Linked DNA regions of Homo sapiens: region 1 is linked to region 2. The links are contacts of gene promoters, found by promoter capture Hi-C in human tissues and cell types (Jung and others, 2019). All regions are on one chromosome and are shown on one strand. Each heading gives the region's core, a stretch centred on a gene start or on the middle of the fragment in contact. The rest is flanking DNA. Distances are from core to core; before and after follow the strand shown. Region 1 holds the start of SETX (senataxin). Region 2 holds the start of CACFD1 (calcium channel flower domain containing 1).

What was found. Contacts are between HindIII fragments. The study calls those that stand out against the background at their distance.
Region 1: a contact is called between the fragment with the promoter of SETX here and the fragment with the promoter of CACFD1 in region 2, in 1 of the 25 tissues and cell types used here (small bowel).

What each region holds. Positions count from the first base shown.
Region 1 is chr9:132,352,908-132,357,819 of GRCh38, reverse strand. SETX (senataxin) reads left to right here and starts at 2,834. Exons shown (of 26, transcript NM_015046.7): 1 at 2,834-2,903; 2 at 4,065-4,171. RefSeq lists silencers at 2,535-2,924, 2,975-3,184 and enhancers at 2,569-3,068, 2,050-3,249, 3,069-3,570. The HindIII fragment of the contact is 18,222 bases long and covers 1-4,912 here.
Region 2 is chr9:133,455,970-133,461,635 of GRCh38, reverse strand. It overlaps CACFD1 (calcium channel flower domain containing 1), which reads right to left and starts at 1,658. Exons shown (of 5, transcript NM_017586.5): 1 at 1,449-1,658. The coding sequence starts at 1,569. ADAMTS13 (ADAM metallopeptidase with thrombospondin type 1 motif 13) reads right to left here. Exons shown (of 29, transcript NM_139027.6): 26 at 5,421-5,567; 27 at 4,917-5,093; 28 at 3,542-3,726; 29 at 2,250-2,662. The coding sequence ends at 2,456. RefSeq lists silencers at 1,143-1,442, 1,733-1,832, 1,843-2,062, 5,031-5,183 and enhancers at 3,895-4,189, 3,713-4,580. The HindIII fragment of the contact is 20,945 bases long and covers 1-5,666 here.

The sequences.
Region 1 (4,912 bases), core at 1,585-4,084, 1.1 Mb after region 2:
ACTAAGCCTGGCTAATTTTTGTATTTTTAGTAGAGACCGGGTTTCACCATGTTGGCTAGGCTGGTCTTGAACTCCTGACCTCAGGTGATCTGCCCACCTCAGCTTCCCAAAGTGCTGGGATTACAGGCCTGAGCCATTGCGCCTGGCCATGTTTATGGTTTTATCAGCTTTAGAAGTTTGTAATTTGTACTTATTTATTCATTCCAAATAAGTATTAATTTTCATTTCTAATTTTATATTTACAAAGTCTATTGCAGTGCTTCTGTTTAACATTCTATAGGTTGTGTAAGTTTTGGGCTCAACAATTCCTGAATGCACCTTGAATCAATGAGTCTCAGGACATAACATTGAGTGTAAAAAGCAATTTGCAGAAAAATACATCCTCCATAATTCCATATACAGAGTTAAAAAGCATGTAAAATTTATATGTTGTTCACAGACAAAAAATGTGGGAAGATGATAAGGCCTACAGAGGGCTTCAGGGACAGGAGGAAATTATGACTTTTGTGGGCTCTGGGCACAAGTTACCTTCATGGCACTTTTCTCCATTAAAAAAAATGATAAAAATTATATTTTATGGCCGGGTGCGGTGGCTCAAGCCTGTAATCCCAGCACTTTGGGAGGCAGAGGCGGGCGGATCACGAGGTCAGGAGATCGAGACCATCCTGGCTAACACGGTGAAACCCTGTCTCTACTAAAAATACAAAAAATTAGCCAGGCGTGGTGGCACGTGGCTGTAGTCCCAGCTACTCGGGAGGCTGAGACAGGAGAATGGCGTGAACCCGGGAGGCGGAGCTTGCAGTGAGCCGAGATGGCGCCCCTGCACTCCAGCCTGGGCGACAGAGCGAGACTCGTCTCAAAAAAAAAAAAAAATTATATTTTATGACTGTGGTGGTATAAAGGCTGTGTTGGTATATTAGTGTTATATGATAAAACAAAATATGTTCAAAATATTTGACAGGATGAAGAAGTAGAAAAGAGGAAAATAACGGTCAACGCGTGCTGCTCCTTAGACGGTTAAATTTGCATAACGGCCACCACGCCCTTCCAACAAGCCACGCCCCCTTGCTAGAATCTTCCTTCGCCTTGGGCCTTTCCCGCAGTGTTCCCCTGGGCTTGCTCCTCATCCTCGGGCCAGGGTTCTCCTCGGTAAGGCTGTATCTGACCCACTTTTCCCAAGCTGGCCCATCTCAGCCTCTTTTTTTATCGCCTGAGTCACCACTACTAATTGTTTAATTTCCCTGTCTCCTCTATTAACTGTAAGACGGTGACGCTGCATCATCGTGGTCAGTAGTAGGCGTTACTAAAAGGGGGTAGGGGCCGGGTGCGGTGGATCACGCTTGTAATCCCAGCACTTTGGGAGGTCGAGGCGGGGCGGATCACTTGAGGTTGGAGTTTGAGACCATCCTGGCCAACATGGTGAAACCCCATCTCTACTAAAAACATGAACATTAGCCGGGCGTGTGGCACACGCCTGTACTCCCAGCTACTCGGGAGGCTGATGCAGGAGAATCATTTGAACCCAGGAGGCGGAGGTTGCAGTGAGCCGAGACTGCGCCACTGCACTTCAGCTTGGGTGACAGAGCGCGACTCCATCTCAAAAACAAAAAAGGGGGGGGATAGGCTTTCCAGTGGATTTTACTCATTTTTATTTATTTATAGACTTTTCTGAGACAGGGTCTTGCTTTGTTCCCCAGCCTGGAGTGTAGTGGCACAGTCACGGCTCACTGCAGTCTCGATCTCCCGGTCTCAATGGATATCCACCCCCTGCCTCAGCCTCCCAACAAGCTGGGCCCACAGGTGCTAATTTTTTTTTTTTTTTTTTTTTTTCCGGAGAGAGAGTCTCGCTCCTTTGCCCAGGCTGGAGTGCAGTGGTGCGATCTCGGCTCACTGCAACCTCTGCCTCCCGGGTTCAAGCCATTCTCATGCCTCAGCCTCCTGAGTAGCTGGGATTACAGGCACCCGCCACCACGCCCAGGTAATCTTTTTATTTTTAGTAGAGACGGAGTTTCACCATGTTGGTCAGGCTGGTCTCGAACTCCTGACCTCAGGTGATCCACCCGCCTCGGCCTCCCAAAGTGCTGGGATTACAGGCGTGAGCCACCGCGCCCGGCCTCGGTGGCTGAGTTTTAATTTTTTTTTGTACATACGGGTGTCTCGCTATGTTGCACAGGCTGGTCTCTGAACTCCGGGCTCAAGCGAGCCTCCCGCCTGGGCCTCCCAAAGTGGTGGGATTAGAAGCGGGAGCCACCGCACCAGCGAGGGATTTACTCTGCTGTGTTGCGCATCGCGCGCATTGTTCGCAAGACCTAAGGTCTCCCTTTCTTGTAATATAAAGGATATACACATATTCCTCCGAAATTACACGTTTATGTAATTTACATTTCAGGTCTTTAAAGGAAATCTAAAGAGAAAAATTACTTCGTCACCGTAGTACATCCGCTGAGACACCTGAGGCGTGGAAAAAAGAAGAAAAAAGAGGGAACGGAAATGGCCAGCGGGTAAGGGCTGACCCCACCCGCAGCAGAGCTCATCCCGGAGCCGCCCCACCCGCAGGAAGCCCCGGGCGGGGCCGAGGTCAAGGTTCCGCGGCAAACTCTCCCCGTCCACCCTGACGGGGACTCGGGATTGGTCGGGCCCCAGCTGCCCGGACGTGACGCCAGCGCCCGGCGTGGGCGGTGCACCGCGGCCGCTCTTCCCATGCCCCGCCCCCTGGGGGGCACCAAAACCAGAAAGCAGCGGCCGGGGCGGGGCCTGCGGCCGGCCGACTCAGCGCGGGGGCGGGGCCTACCTCGCGGCAACAGCTGGTTGGTAGCTGCGGCTGCGGGCCCGCACTTCCGCTGGTGGCCTAGAGCGGGGCCCGGTATGGAGGTGGGCTAGAGGCCGACGCCAGCCAGAGAGCGGTGAGGGTAGCGGCGGGCTGGAGGCCGTAGGTCGGGCGGGCGTGAGCGCAGGCGCGGCTTGTGCTTGCAGGGCCGCTTCGGGGAACCATCGCGGCGCCTAGGTCCCGGTGGGCGGATGGGGGAAGAGTCGGCGCGGGCTCGGCCGCTTCCCTCGGTGCGGGGGCGGGAGCACCCCTCGACGGCTGGCGGCCGCCTGTTGCCTTCCTGCGCGCTGGACCCGGCCGCTGCGACCCCCTGTCCTTCCGTTGTCTACACTGCGGTCTCGTGTGAGCTGTTTTTGGTGTGGATACTGCGTAGTTTCCTTGGGGCTGAGCGGGAGGTCTCGGGGTGGAAAGTGTCGGTTCCCTCCACACGCTCGTCTGCCTCTCGCCTGGAGTCCCTCCCTTTGTTTTTTTTTCTTTTTTCTTTTTTTTTTTTTTTTGAGACGGGGTCTCGCTCTGTCACCCAGGCTGAAGTGCAGTGGAACAGTCACGGCTCGCAGCAACCTCGTCTTCCTGGGCTCCAGCGATCCTTCCGCCTCATCCCCCCGAGTAACTGGGACCATAGGCGCGCGTCACCACGCCCGGCTAATTAAAAACAAAATGTGTTGCAGAGACAGGGCCTGGCTGTGTTTCCCAGGCTGAGCTCAGCTGCTCCAGGGATCCTCCGAGCCGCCGCGCCCGGCCGGTCCCTTCGTTTGGAGGAGAGTCTGTTTCTCCCACTTGGAGGGGCTGGAGCTTTTGCTGCTGGCCACAGGACTTTGTCCGTCCTCCCCAACTTCTGGGGATCTAAGGATGTGCCCAGCAATTTGCACGACCCAAGTGAAACGGGGGTGACTGCCTTGAGGGAAAAGAGCTCCACAAGGAGAAGGCCGAGTGTGGTATTTGATAAGTGACACAGCTGAGGATCCTAGGATTGATGTTACCTGCGCGGGCTAATAACTTGGGGGATTTTTGGCTCGGTGCCTAGCTGTCCCCGTGAGTGGGGACAGCCCCTTGTGGAACTGGGAGTCAGAATTGCAGTTCTGCTGTTTCCTGGAAGTCCACAGCCAAGTTGTCTAACCTATCTGGGCTTCCTCATCAGCCAGCAGTATCTGTCTGTAATAGGATCGATACCAGGCTCAGATGGGATATAGAGTATAAATGCCACTTACCAATTTCGTTTTTTGTTTTTTAATTTCAGAAATGTTCTTTTGGGGCCAGAGTCTGGGCATATATGAATGCAAATCCGTGTTTGTTCACAACTAAGCCCAGCTGAGACGATCACTTTTCTGTAGGCCATTTGTCCAGGTAATAATTTTTTTTTTTAGCAGGAGTTCAGAGCACCAAGGTAAGTGCAATGATGGAAACATGTGCAGAGTCCTAAAGGGACAGAGAAGAAGGTCATCAGAGATAGACTGGAAGAGAGGACGGGTCGGACAGGCCCCCCCCCCAGACGTGATGACACTCAGGAAGAGCTTGCACACTGGTTGTTCTCAAATCCAGCTTTCTCTTCGAATCTTAGTGGAGTTCTTTAAAAGGGAAACAATTTTATCCATAGGATCTTTTCTACTTTTTTTTTTAAGTTCCTGAGGTAAGTCTGATGTGTATTCACAGTTAAGTACCGGGCAGAGGTAGGAGGGTGGGTTTCCAAGGCCAGTGGAAGAGCTTCCATAAAGGCAGGGAATACCAGTCACCATGAATGGTTTTAGGAAGAGCAAGTCAAGGGAGGTAAGTGTGGAGGAAAGAGATGATGTGGAAGCTGGATCATCGCGGGCCTTGTGTGTGTTGAGCTCAGCAATTTGAATTTTATCCCAACATTGGAGGAGGAGTCATTTGTGCTTTCGAAGTCCAGTTTGGGGCTTTGGCCTCTGGCAGCATTTTGGAGGAGGAATTGATGGCGATCAAAGAAGAAATAGATCATTTAGGCTTCTTCAGTAATCCAGGCAAATGATGAAAATGTACTGAACTAAGGCAGTGGCGGTTGCACTGAGAAGAAAGTAGAGATGTAATTAAGGGGTAGGCTCTGGAGCTCAGAGATTGCGGCTGAGG
Region 2 (5,666 bases), core at 409-2,908:
GACTCCACAGCAAATCTGGGAGTCGGCAGGGCCACTGACCAAGAAGGAAGGAGGTGTGGCCTACAGGCCATAGTCAGGACCTTTCCTTTCTCACCACTGACCATGTCACCCCACTGCACTGCCCACCCTAATCTGCAGGGAAAACAGCTAACCAGACATGACAGGACTGGATCCAATGCCTAACTTCAAACCCACCAGTCTCTCCTACAAAGTCAAAAGCGTACTTGCCCTGAAGAGCAGTGACACAAACTCGGGGCCTTTTTGTGATTTGGGGGTAGGGCCTGCCCTACCGTATCCGTTGCCTCTGGATAAGGGCATGCCTAGCGAGGGCAGCACACTCCTAGCCCAGCACCCTCCTGCCTCAACCTCCCTCCACCCTCTACCCACCTGGAAAGGCTGTGGAACCCAAGGTGACCCTGAAAAGGTGGTCCTTCTGGCAGGATTGCTGATGGGGCCTGCCCTGCCCAGGCCCAGAGCTAGCCCTCTCTGCCAGGCAGGCACTGTTTAAAACCTGCAGACATCCTCGACAGACATTCTCTAAGACCTTGCCCACTCCAGTAATCCACAAGATTGAGGGCAGACAGGAAAGGAAAGGGTATCACTCAGACAGACTTGTCTTTCCCTGGAAGGCCAGCTGTACGGCTTCCATTCACTCCTGGAGCTGACCTGCCTCCCTCTTTGTCCTTTTCTGGCTGTGCTTAAGAGCCTAGCTTCCCTGGCAGCCTAAGGTCAGGGTCTGTGACTGGGATGCGTGCGGAGAAGGGGAGGAAGGCCGGTGACAGGCGGCTAAGGCAGCAGCAACGGGGGAGATATGAGAGCGGACAGAGGACCCAGGGAGAGGCCGGGCCCTCAGCTCACTGCCCCGCGGCCCCAGGGGCCACCTGTGCCCTGACACCACCTGACCCTCAGCAAACTTCCGCCCAGTGGCTTCCTGCCAGAAATCTAGCCAGCCGTGCACCCGCCTCCCTTACAAACAATCCTTGCCCAAAGGTTAGCAATGTGGCTGCCGTCACCTACGCCCAAGTCAACAGTTGACGCTTTAGTACGGGCCAGGTGGGCATGCGCCCCGTGAGCATCACCGAGAAAGTCTCACAAAAGCCCCTGGGGAGCGGGGGGAGGGCTCAGTCACGTGCCCCAGGCCGGTGCCCCACCCCCGCCCCCGCCGCCCCCCCGCCCTGGGGTTTCTGGTCCCTCCGGGAATGTTCCCAGAAGCGCCAGCCCAGCCCAGCCCGGGGTACCAAGGCGCCCAGGCCCGAGCGGGTAACCATGGCAACCCCAGGACGCCGGCTCCCGGCGGCCCCGCCATTCCTCCGCCCCGGGAGGCGCCCGGCAGACCCCCGACCCCCAGCGGGTCCTTTCCCCTGGGGCCGCCGGGGCGGGGCGGGGCAGGGCAGGGCGAGGAGCGCATGCGCGGCGGGGCCGGCCCCTCTCCCCGACTGGATACTCACAGACTGCCCCCAGCACCCCAGACAGGCGACACAGCCAGCGGTACCACCACGTCATGCCCTCTTCCTGCGCGGGCGGCGCAGAGCTGGCGGACGCCCCGGGCGCCCCACCTGAGCTGCTCATGGTGCCACCGTCAGGCGCAGCTCACAGCCCTCACAAAGGGCTCGGTAGCCGGCCGCGTCCGAGCCGGCGCGCTGCCTTGTGGGAGAGGGAGCATATTAGCATAGGGGGCGGGGCTTTCAGGCTGCGGCGAGGCGCGCCCGAAGGGAGGCGGGTGCTCATTAACATAGTGAGCGGGACCCTCATGCCGCGACTAGGGGCGTTTGAGGGGAGGTAGGTGCTCATTATTGTAGGGGGCGGGACCCGCAGGCTGCGGCGAGGAGCTGGGGGTGGGGAGCTCGTTAGCATACGGGGCGGGGCTCGCAGGCATCGGAGAGGTGTGCCCGAGGGGGGCGGGCGTCATTAGCGTAGGGGGCGGGGGCTCGCAGTTTGCGGCGACTTGCTCCCAAAGGAGGCGGGCGCTTATTAGCATAGGGGGCGGGGCCTGGAGGCGCGCAGACACCTTAGCGGTCAGAGCCTCACACCAGGACACACGGGTGGGGCTTCGCAGGGAGCTGGCTAATGCGCCATCCTCGGAGTGGAATCCTGATTGGATTTTCTTCCTGGATAGGAAGAAGATAACTAGGGACGTCCAGCGGCTTGCTCAGATCAAGATAGAGCCAACCGCGGCCAGCGAATCCCTGCCTTGCCATGGGATGGGTTTTCAAGCCAGGTCTGGACAGCTTATAAGAAAAAAACGCCGGTCAGCCTGCATGTTTTATTTATTGGTACCCGAGGAAATGGGGGCTGCTTTTCCAGAGTCCCCACCTCCAACCCCCTAGCCTTTTGGACATTGGAGAAGACTCTAAAGTAGATACCTAAGATTGGAAAAAGTTCGAATTGGAAAGCACTGAGACCAGGGGTCAACCCTCCAGGGCTGGCCAGACACGGAACAAATGTTCAATGACCCTCAGGTTCCTTCCTTTCCCTTCCAGGACTGAGGGTCCTGCATCTCCGGTACCCATGATTGGAGGGTCCAGTACTGGCCCCGCAGGCTGGCCTGAGCCTTCAGGAAGCCCTCGCTGAACTCCATCTCAGCCTGGCTGCTCTCTGACTCCCAGTAGAGCACCTGCTGCCCATGGAACGCTGTGGTCCTCAAGCTGTGGGTGTCCCGGATCTGAGAGAAAAGGGGCAGCCCAGAAGGACCGGCCACAAGTAATAATTAGCACTCACGGAAGCCTTCGTGTGCAAGGGCTCACAGATTCCGGATCACATTTAATGCTTACAAAGCCCTACTAGGAATACGCCATTACTCTACCCAGAAAACCGAGGTCCAGGGACGTTACATCACTTCCCCAAGGACACACAGTCAGGGTGCCAGAGCGGGGCCAGGCTGCCTCCTCTGGGGAAGCTGATACCCTGCAGAACACAGTTCTCCCAGGACACTTGAAACCTCGGGGAGGGTGCAGGGTGCTATTCTGTCCAAGTTATATCAGACTGTAAAATTATGCTTCAGTCTTGGGTTAGCTGTCAGTCTACATCAGAAAGGTCTTTACCATTCTTTACCATTTCGCTTTTTTTTTTTTTTTTTTTTTGAGACAGAGTCTCACTCTGTTGCCCAGGCTGGAGTGCAGTGGTGCGATCTGGGCTTAGTGCAACCTCCACCTCCCGGGTTCAAGTGATTCTTGTGCCTCAGCCTCCCAAGTAGCTGGGATTACAGGCACACGCCACCATGCCTGGCTACTTTTTCTATTTTTAGTAGAGACAAGGTTTCATCATGTTGGCCAGGCTGGTCTCGAACTCCTGACCTTGAGTGATCTGCCCTCCTGGGCCTCCCAAAGTGCTGGGATTACAGTTGTGAGCCACTATTTCACTCTTGTAGGTAGCTCAAAAAACATTTCTTGGTGAATATGTGGAGGAAGCTATCTTCTCCCATTCTTTCACTAATGATTTTGAGGGTTTTAGTCTGAAATAAACTGAAGGGGGTCCCCTAGCCCTGCACGCCCTAGGGAAAGCTGTCCAGAATCACAGCACAAGTCCCCATGCTGGGCCTCACCAAGATGTAGCTGGCATTGGCTCCCTCGGTCCCAGCGCCCATGTTGGTGGCCAGGGCATGGATGGCAATCCGTGCGTGCGGAGCCACATTAATGAAGAGCCGGCAGCCCCCTGCATTACTCGTGGCTGGACTCAGCGAGGGGCTCACGATTTCACCCCAGGGCCCAAAGAGCTGCATGTCACATTCTGCAGGTGGGACATAGGGACATAGGAACCCAGACAGACCGGTGGTGCCAGAGGCCAGGACAACTCACAGCCAGGGAGCCGTGCAGGGCAGCATGGCACTGTGGTCAATATTGGGGTTCCCAGGCAAATCCTGCTGAACCCCACCTCTACCACTTCCTGGCCCAGTGACTTTAGGCAAAGGCTAAATGTTCTGGGCTCTGGTTCCCTCCTCTGTAACTGAAGGAAACAATGGCATGCACTGAGCAGAGTGGTCTTTAGGACTCAATGATGTCACACGTGCAAGAGTGTTTAACACTGAAACTGGCAACAAAGATAGGCTCCACCCATGGCGGCCACTGCTGTTCCTCAGAGCTCACTGGAGCCCCCACCTGCCTGTACCTCCTGCACCTCTTTCAAGGCAGATGCCTGTGTGGGCGGGGCTGGGCCGGGAAGCGAGAAGCAATGTGAACGGTGACAGTGGGCTTGTGGCCTTTTGGCAGGGCCCAGCAGCGCCTGTGCACTGGGACACATACACGGCTCTCTGCCCGGGCAGGTCTGGGGCAAGGAGGCGGCGCACTAGGTCTCTGCAGAGGCTAAGCCCCTGTTGCCACTAAGCCCCAGACACCTGGGGGAGCCGAGGAACCTCTGGAACCAGCTAGGGAAGCCAACTTCGGCCAGCTCGGGCTGTTGGGAGAGGGCAAGCCCCCCAGGACAACCGAGAGGGCTATCAGAGGATATCGAGGGGGCCACGGGCAAGGCTGGAGTCCCTGAGGTGGCATCCTCTGCCTGAGGTGTGCTTGTGGGTGCACATGCATGTACAAGCATGTCTGCTTACACCAGTGCACTGAAACAGGGCTGAGGGACAGTGGCTTCCACAAAACCCTAAAAGCCCTTGAAAGGCTGGAGGGGTGGGGGCGGGGCAGGTGGGTGTGGGGCAGAGGCCTGAGGGACTGACTGAGGATGTGGACCATGTCCCACATCCGTCCATCTTGCTGCACGGTCCCAAAAAGGAGGGATATAGCATTCATCCTGTGACCCCTCCCTGGCACGTGCAGACTGACACTGGCCAACCCCAGTTCCTTCCATCTCAGTCAGTTCCCTCCGTATCTTCCCACTGCCCCACTGGGACTGGCCCCATCCCCAGCAGCACCCACCCAGCCTCCCTGCCAGGACTGGAGCACCCAAGGGAGGTGGAGAAGGCCTGGCCATACCTCTGTAGAAGGTTTCAGGAGCAAGCTGGCTCCCATACCGCAGCAGCACCCCACCTCCTGGCCGCCCGCAGCGCTGCCTCACCACCAGCGTGTTGGTCTTGGAGCTGAAAGTCATGTCCAACAGCTTCCTGCACATCTTCCTCCAGGTGAGCCGGCCCCAAAGCAGCAACATGTCCCCTAGGAAGCGGCAGGGCAGTGAGGGTCCAGCACTCCCACGCCTGGTCAGCAGAGGAGTGGCTCCAGGGTAGACTGAGCCGAGTTCAAGTCCCACCTCTCCCACTGCTGGCTATGTGACTCTAAGTAACTGGGCACATCACTTAATCTCTCCTAGCCTCAGTTTCCTCATCTGTAAAATGCAGATCATCACTCCCCAGTCATGAGATGGGATGCAAACTACAGGTGGGAATGCACATGGGCTCCTGCCAGGAATGGGGCATGCAGCGTCGTGCTGGCTCCTGGCAGGGCCCATAACTGGCAGCATCGCTTGCATGGCCCTAGACATACCCGCACTGCAGTTGAGAGAACTCTCAAGGACGCGGAGGGTCACCACCTCCCCGAGGGGCCGCCCAATGGCCACTGCACAGTCTGCCTGCCCTGGGCCTCGCATGTCAATGGTTCCTGTTGGCTCAAGGTGCTGCCTGCCACAGGCACCTGAAAAGGGAGCAGGAGACAGGTAAGCAGTGCTTCCCCGATTCCCAGCAGGGCAGGCTCCGGGGCTTCCAAGCTGAGGAAGGAGACCAGGAGGTAGGG